Linked DNA regions of Homo sapiens: region 2 is linked to region 1. The links are contacts of gene promoters, found by promoter capture Hi-C in blood cells and fetal thymus (Javierre and others, 2016). All regions are on one chromosome and are shown on one strand. Each heading gives the region's core, a stretch centred on a gene start or on the middle of the fragment in contact. The rest is flanking DNA. Distances are from core to core; before and after follow the strand shown. Region 1 holds the start of GMEB1 (glucocorticoid modulatory element binding protein 1). Region 2 overlaps EPB41 (erythrocyte membrane protein band 4.1).

Region 1 (3,843 bases), core at 1,027-3,526:
ATTCTAAGTCACAGACTGGAGACTATTATGTAGATGTTTGAGGGAGCGATGGGATAAGAGTTATTTGGAGTCATCCCGCTACAGTCCGGTGGACTTTGGCTTAGGGCAAGACCAAAATACTGCCCCCACAATAAACCCAATGAAGCTGAGTAGAAGCTACCTATACAATGTATTTGCTGAAGTAAATAGGAACCCAAAAAAAATCATTTAAGTAAGATATTAAATATACATCCTTGATATAAGGCTCTCAAATTAGGAGACGGTGCAACCATTGAATAAGTTTCCCCCGCCGGGCGCAGTGGCTCACGCCTGTAATACCAGCACTTTAGGAGGCCAACGCGGGCGAATCACAAGGTCAGGAGATCGAAACCATCCTGGCTAACATGGTGAAACCCCGTCTCTACTAAAAACACAAAAAAATTAGCCTGGTTGGGCCAGGCGCAGTGATTCACGCCTGTAATCCCAGTACTCTGGGAGGCTGAGGATGTGGGATCACCTGAGGTTGGGAGTTCGAGACCAGCCTGGCCAACATGGTGAAACCCCGTCTCTATTAAAAATACAAAAATTAGCTGGGTGTGGTGGCGGGCGCCTGTAGCCCCAGCTACTCGGGAGGGTGAGGCAGGAGAATCGCTTGAACCCAAGAGGCGGAGGTTGCAGTGAGCTGAGATCGCGCCATTGCACTCCAGTCTGGGCAACAGGAGTGAAACTCCGTCTCAAACAACAACAACAACAACAACAAAATTGGCTGGTGTGGTGGCACGCGCCTGTAGTCCCAGCTACTCGGGAGGCTGAGGCAGGAGAATCGTTTGAACCCAGGAGGCGGAAGTTGCAGTGAGCCACCACTCCAGCCTGGGCGATAGAGTGAGACTCCGTCTCAAAAAACAAATAAATAAATAAATAAATAAAAAGGGTCCCCAAATGCACTTTGGTAACTATTAGAAGAGGCAAGGAGGAAGAAGATAATCCCTCAAGACTAGAATTATGTCTGACAGTCTCTTTTCCTAAAACCCGTCTTGATTGGCCTAAACAGACACCAATCAAGGCCCCATCTGTGTCTACTAGGAAGTGGTTTTGAGATTTCTCTCATCTTGAGAGAATCCAGGGCTGCGCCTGCTCTGCTGTCTAGGTCAAGACTTCACCCTCTTGTCTTGTGGATCATCCTCCAAAGACCCTCGGGTTGAGATTTTGCCTTCATCTCTCCTGCCCCTCAATTAGATAACACCTGGCCAATTCCTGTCATTTCAGAAAGCGGGAACACCTTAAGCATCTTTCCTCAACGATCTCTGCTTCTCTCAAAAAGATAGGTTTCTCCATCCCCTGACCGAGCGGGTTACTTTGTTCTCCACCTAGACATCAAGAGGCACCTAGACACCTTCCATCCCCTCAGGTTTGGACGCTGCTCTTTCGTACTTCAGGAGGCTCTAGGAGTCTTCCTACCACGCGCTCATCTGTGGGGAGACCTGGGCCTGCTCACTTCCCCTTAGAGCTCCTCTTCCTTCCCTGCCTTTGGAAAAAACCTGCCCTTTTTTCCCTTGTTCTGAGTGGCCGAGGCCTCTACCGCGCCCCTCGGGATAAGCTGGACTCTGCTCTCCTCAGAAGAACCCACTCTGTACTCTTGCTCTCCCGCCAAGGCTCCGAGAGGGTCTCCTCCCAGGCGGGCATCCGGGCTTCCAGCACCTATCGTCCCCCTCCCACTGGGCAGGACCCAGGCCTCCAACCAGCTCCTCATCCAAGGGCCCGGTGCTCCCCGGACCCCGCCTTTGGGGATACCCCAGGCTCCCCGGACCCCTCGATGGGGTCCTGGGCGCCTGGCCCTCTCAGTCCGGAGTCACTCCGGCCCCTCCTGGCCCCTGAGCCGAGTACTTCCGGGCCCCTCGGTCCGGGGGCGCCGGGGCCCCCCCAGTGGTGGACTCGCCGGTTCCCGCCGCCCTGGTCTGGGGCCCGAGCCCCGGCGGCGCGGCCGGCTGCGCTGGGGGCGGCCCGGCGGCTCGGGCGGACCCAGCGGCAGCGTCCCCCCACCCCCCCGCGGCGCCGCGACGTCCGCTCGCTCCCCGGCGGCGGCGGCGGCACGCACAGGGCGTGGGGAGGCGCCCGCGGAGGCAGCAGCCCCCCGCCCCCTGCGCGCCCGCCCGCCCTCGCCGGCCGCCGCGCGGCCCCCGCGCCCGCCCCCCCGCCCCCACCCCACCCCGCGCCCGCGCGCCCACCCCTCCCCCTCCTCACCGTCTCCGTCGGGCGGGCGGGCGGCGAGCGGCCAGGGCGGGCAGGCGACGGAGCATGCGCAGAGGCCGCCACGGCAGCTACCGCCACCGCCGCCGCCAGGCCGGGCTTCAACACTTCCGGCCGCCGCCGCCGGAGAGCTGGCGCCTTAAAGGGGACGCGTCCCTATTGCCGGTCCCACCGAGGATTAACCTTAGCCAAGGGATTTGGGCCTTACCTAAGCAGAATTCTTTCGCCCTTGAAAATCAGTGTTGGAAAGGTCGCTAGAGACCCCAGTAACTCTCCTTCCCGCACTCATAGATGAGGAAAATAGGCCCTAAATGAAAGAATCACCTCAACCACAATTGAGGGCCAAGCTAGCTTTCTCGACTCCTCTGGAGGACTCTACTCCATTTACCTCCCCAAATCCTGTTTTATGAAGTTTACATCTTATCGGACCCTTCAAGTTACAATCCAGCTATCAGTTTGCAATCAGAAGATCTGCATAGATCAGTAACTGGTCACGAGTCCTTGAGCAAGCCCTAAGCATTGTCTGACCCGTGCCTGTTTGCCAAGTTTTTCCTGCTTGTGAGTTTCTGGGTTGAAGTCTTGACTCCCCTGCTGGAAGTGTAAACGACTCTGGAGGAATTTCTTGACAGCTCTAAACCTGTTTCCGATAAGACATAATGTGAGTGCTAAAGAAGGTGATACCTGCATGAAAAGTGCTTCAGAGAGTTCCTGGGGTCAGTAATAGTAATTAACAAGTATTAAGACCTTTATTTTTTATTTATTTATTTATTTTTTTAGACAGAGTCTTGCTCTTTGGCCAGGCTGGAGTGCAGTGGCGCGATCTCGGCTCACTGCAGCTTCAGCCTCCTGGGTTCAAGTGATTCTCCGGCCTCAGCCTCCCGAAGAGCTGGCACTAGAGGCGCGCGACACCACGCCCGGCAATTTTTTTTTTTTTTTGTATTTTAGTAAAGACAGGATTTCACCATGTTGGCCAGGATGGTCTCAATATCTGACCTCATGATCCACCCGCCTGGGCCTCCCAAAGAGCTGGGATTACAGGCGTGAGCCACCGCGCCCGGCCGTATTAAGACCTTTCTATGGCCAGGTGTGGTGGCTTACGCCTGTAATCCCACACTTTGGGAAGCCGAGGCGGACAGATCACTTGAGACCAGGAGTTCGAGACCAGCCTGGGCAACATGGTGAAACCCCGTCTCTACTAAAAATACAGAAATTAGCCGGGCGTCGTGGCACGCGCCTCTAGTCCCAGCTACTCAGAAGGCTGAGCCAGGAGAATCACTTGAACCCGGGAGGCGGAGGTTGCAGTGAGCCGAGATCAGGCCATTGCACTCCAGCCTGGGCAACAGAGTGAGACTCTATCTCAAAAAACAAACAAACAAAAAGACCTTTCTATGGCCTATGGCTTGGTGAAGATGCTTCTGTCTTGTATAATCCTCACAGCAACCCTACTAAGTAAGTTTCTCTTTTTTTTTTTTTTTGAGACGGAGTCTTGCTCTGTCGCCCAGGCCGGAGTGCAGTGGCGCAATCTCGGCTCACTGCAAGCTCCGCCTCCTGGGTTCACACCATTCTCCTGCCTCAGTCTCCTCAGTAGCTAGGACTACAGGCGTCCGCCACTACGCC
Region 2 (3,864 bases), core at 24-2,523, 370 kb before region 1:
GGTCTTGAACTCCTGACCTCAAGTGATCCTCCTGCCTCGGGCTCCCAAAGTGCTGGGATTACAGGCATGAGCCACCATGCCCGGCCCTTCTGAACATTTATTTATTTATTTATTTATTTATTTATTTATTTATTTAATTTATTTATTTATGAGACACTCTCACTCTGTCTCCCAGGCTGGAGTCCAATGGCGCAATCTTGGCTCACTGCAGCCTCCGCCTCCCGGGTTTAAGCGATTCTCATGCCTCAGCCTCCTGTGTAGCTGGGATTACAGACGTGCGCCACCATGCCCAGCTGATTTTTGTATTTTTACTAGAGACAGGGTTTCACCATGTCAGCCAGGCTGATCTCGAACTTCTGGCCTCATGTGATCCATCCACCTTGGCCTCCCAAAGTGCTGCGATTATAGGTGTGAGCCACCGCACCCAGCCTGAATTTTTATTTATTAGCCACTCTTTTTTTAGTGACATAAGGAACTGAATGTAGCTTATTACCTCGTTTCAGTAATGGGCTCAAATGCTAACTTAGAAGATCCTCCCACAATATATCAATTCAGACAGGTCTTCTGTCAGTATATACAATCACGAAATTTGTGTATTTCCTCCCTATTTTATTTAAACATTTGGAGACTCCAACAATGGGATATTGGAGTTTCCTATCCATAATTGCCACGTGGCAAACTTCTTTTTAAATTATTCTTGTATGGCTGGGCATGGTGGATCACACCCATAATCTCAGCACTTTGGGAGGCCGAGGTGGGTAGATAACCTGAGGTCAGGAGTTTGAGACCAGCCTGGCGAACATAGTGAAACCCTGTCTCTACTAAAAATACAAAAATTAGCCAGGAATGGTGGCACACGCCTGTAATCACAGCTACTCGGGAGACTAAGGCAGGAGAATCACTTGAACCTTGGTAGGCAGAGGTTGCAGTGGGCCGAGGTTGAGTCACTGCACTCCAGCCTGGGCCACAGAGTGGGACTCCATCTCAAAAAATAAAAAAATTAAGAAAAAAAAAAAGATTGTTGTAGTAAGGCAGACCCTTTTCCTCTTTTCTACTATAGAAAATAGCTATTATTTATTTATTTATTTTTTAGAGACAGAGTCTCACTTTGTGGCCTAGGCTGGAGTACAGAGGTGCACACTGCAGCCTCCACCTCCTGGGCTCAAGCTATCCTCCTGCCTCAGCCTCCTGTGTTACCAGGACTGCAGAAAAATATTAGCTATTTTTAAATGCTAAGAGGCCTTCAGTTCAGCATACTACATTAGATTTTTACTCTCTGGTAGAGATTCTGATAGATTTAGATTTATAATTCTAATTCTGGTACTGTTTGATCCACCACTACCTAGCAGTGGAACCATGATCTAGTCACTACTCTCGGAATCTCAATTTTCCTTTTCTTAAGATGATTCTATTAAGATTAGACAATTAGTAAGATCCCTTTCATTTTACCACTGAGCTTCTTTTTTTTTTGAGACAGAGTCCCACTCTGTCAGCCAGGCTGGAGTGCAACGGCATGATCTCGGCTCACTACAACCTCTACCTCCTGGGTTCAAGCAATTCTCCTGTCTCAGCCTCCCAAGTAGCTGGGATTACAGGCATATGCCGCCACGCCCAGCTAATTTTTTGTATTTTTAGTAGAGATGGGGTTTCACTGTGTTGCCCAGGCTGGTCTCAAACTCCTGAGCTCAGGCAATCCACCTGCCCTGGCCTCCCAAAGTGCTAGGATTACAGGTGTAAGCCACTGCACCAGGCCCAACCCTGAGCTTCTTTAATTCGGTTCTCTTATAGATAATTGCACTTCCTTTATCTTTCCAAATGAATTATGATCACAAGAAATCATTAATATTCAATACAAACCTCCATCGAGGCTCCGGGACGCCCGTTTACTTGCTGTACGCTCGAAGTGTGGGGCAGGCCTGTCAATTAGAGCACTAGCTTGCCTGGTCTGAGCTTGAGTCCGGCCACTGTATCGAAATTTGGATCCTAGCGCAAGAAATTTGCTTTTGGGAATGGTGTCTGTAGATGTCAATCTGGGGGGAAAATCGTAATAGTCATATTATTATATATTCATCTTATTATTCTAAAACTGTAAAATTAAAAACAAAATCAAGAATAAAAAAGTTTCACAATTCTCAGGGTTTCCATATAGTTACTAAGAAATTTTCAATCAAGTAATCATTATTTTAGTTCTTTGTCATTTCTCAAAGCAACCAGTTGGGACCTATATTAATTTTATTTATAGCTCTATAGAAAGGGCCTTACAGTTTTCAAAATGTTTTTACAGCACTGCAGTATTTTTACTACATCCTTATAATGTTTTCCCCATTTTATAGATATAGGAAACTGAACCTCAAAAAAGAAGTTACTTAAGGTCACACAGCTGTTAGGACATTGGGCAGTAACAAAGTCGAAGCCCAGAGCTCTTTTTCCACTCTCCTGGAATGACAGTTTTGTCAAATGCACTCCAAACTCAATTAATGCCTGGTAATCTATTTAACAGGTTATTTGGTGTATTTTTAAACTCAGTTGGGAACCCCATCTTTTTCCTATATGGTACTCTATGTACTCTTTGTACCATACTGAATTAAAACAATCTATTTCTATGCTGGTCTCCCCTATAAGACTGAATTCTCTAGGAGTAAAGAACAAAGACCATGGCTTATTCATCTTTGTGTTTTTGCTTCTGGCATAGTGCCTGGCATAAATATGATATCCAATAAATATTTGTTGAATAAGGACATAAATTACTACATCAAATACTACCAAAAAGAGAGTATTTTTCCCTTTGAGGTAATTGATTTCAATTCAGCAAACATATACTTTTATGTAAGGGAGCATTAGATTTTAAGGTATTCTCTTATTTTGATGCAATGGATTTAAATATGCCATCCTACAAGTAAGTATACTGGCTGCAGCTGAAATCTATACCACAGTTATTAGACATTCAAAAATCACTTTTTTACTCCTCCTTGCTCTTTTTAAAAAATTCTACTTTTGTGGTTTGATTTTAAAGAAGGAGAGATGATGAAAGCATAAATAAATGTGTTAATGCCAATAATTAAGATTCTTTAATTGGGTGTAAAATGTACCCTCATGTTTTATTTTGAAATAATTGAAATATTAATTTCCTTGAATTTTCTTCTCGTTGACTGTGCTATAGTGCTATTATATGAAAATATAAATAGAAGGAAAAGATATCAGGATTATCTCTCTCTCTCTTTCTCTTAAAGAATCAAGTTTATTTATGAATGAAATGACGTGAGGCCTGGGATTTGCTTCAAAATAATCTCGGAAGTAGGGGGAAGGAGTGGATAGGGATATAGAAGAAACAAGATTGGCTTTGGGGTGATAATTATTGAAGCTGGGTGATAAGTACAAGGGGATTTTATTGTACTGTTGCTACATATGAAATTTTCCATAATAAAGAAACGTTCTTAAAAAGGCAAACTGGGCCGAGTGCAGTGGCTCACGCCTGTAATCACAGCACTTTGAGAGGCCAAGGCGAGTGGATCACTTGTCAGGAGTTCGAGACCAGCCTGGTCAATATGGTGAAACCCGGTCTCTACTAAAAATTTAAAAATTAGCTGGGCATGGTGGTATGCATCTATAGTCCCAGCTACTTGGGAGGTTGAGGCATTGCGCCACTGCACTACAGCCTGGGCAACAGAGTGAGACTCTGTCTCAAAAAAAAAAAAAAGGCAAACTGATAAATAGCCAACTTTCCTTTCAATACAAGTAATTACTTGTCTAAGGTCTGTCTTCTCTACTAGACTGGGTGTTCCACCAGGAGAGAGACTAGAACTATCTTGTAGTATATTCCCAATGCCTAACATGGTGCATACAAGAAGGGTAAGCACATAGAAA

The links. The method cuts DNA at HindIII sites, captures the fragments that hold promoters and counts their contacts. A CHiCAGO score of 5 or more calls a contact.
Region 2: a fragment that was not itself captured here is called in contact with the fragment with the promoter of GMEB1 in region 1 in 2 of 17 cell types (M1 macrophages and M2 macrophages); the score reaches 5.5 in M1 macrophages.

Annotation. Positions count from the first base shown.
Region 1 is chr1:28,667,217-28,671,059 of GRCh38, reverse strand. It overlaps GMEB1 (glucocorticoid modulatory element binding protein 1), which reads right to left and starts at 2,276. Exons shown (of 10, transcript NM_001319674.2): 1 at 2,221-2,276. RefSeq lists enhancers at 1,035-1,094, 1,145-1,194 and silencers at 1,725-2,014, 2,025-2,134, 2,165-2,304. The HindIII fragment of the contact is 26,935 bases long and covers 1-3,843 here.
Region 2 is chr1:29,037,420-29,041,283 of GRCh38, reverse strand. It overlaps EPB41 (erythrocyte membrane protein band 4.1), which reads right to left. Exons shown (of 21, transcript NM_001376013.1): 11 at 1,858-2,030. Among named protein-coding and RNA genes, the nearest start is that of TMEM200B, 85 kb to the left of the region's middle. The HindIII fragment of the contact is 8,836 bases long and covers 1-3,864 here.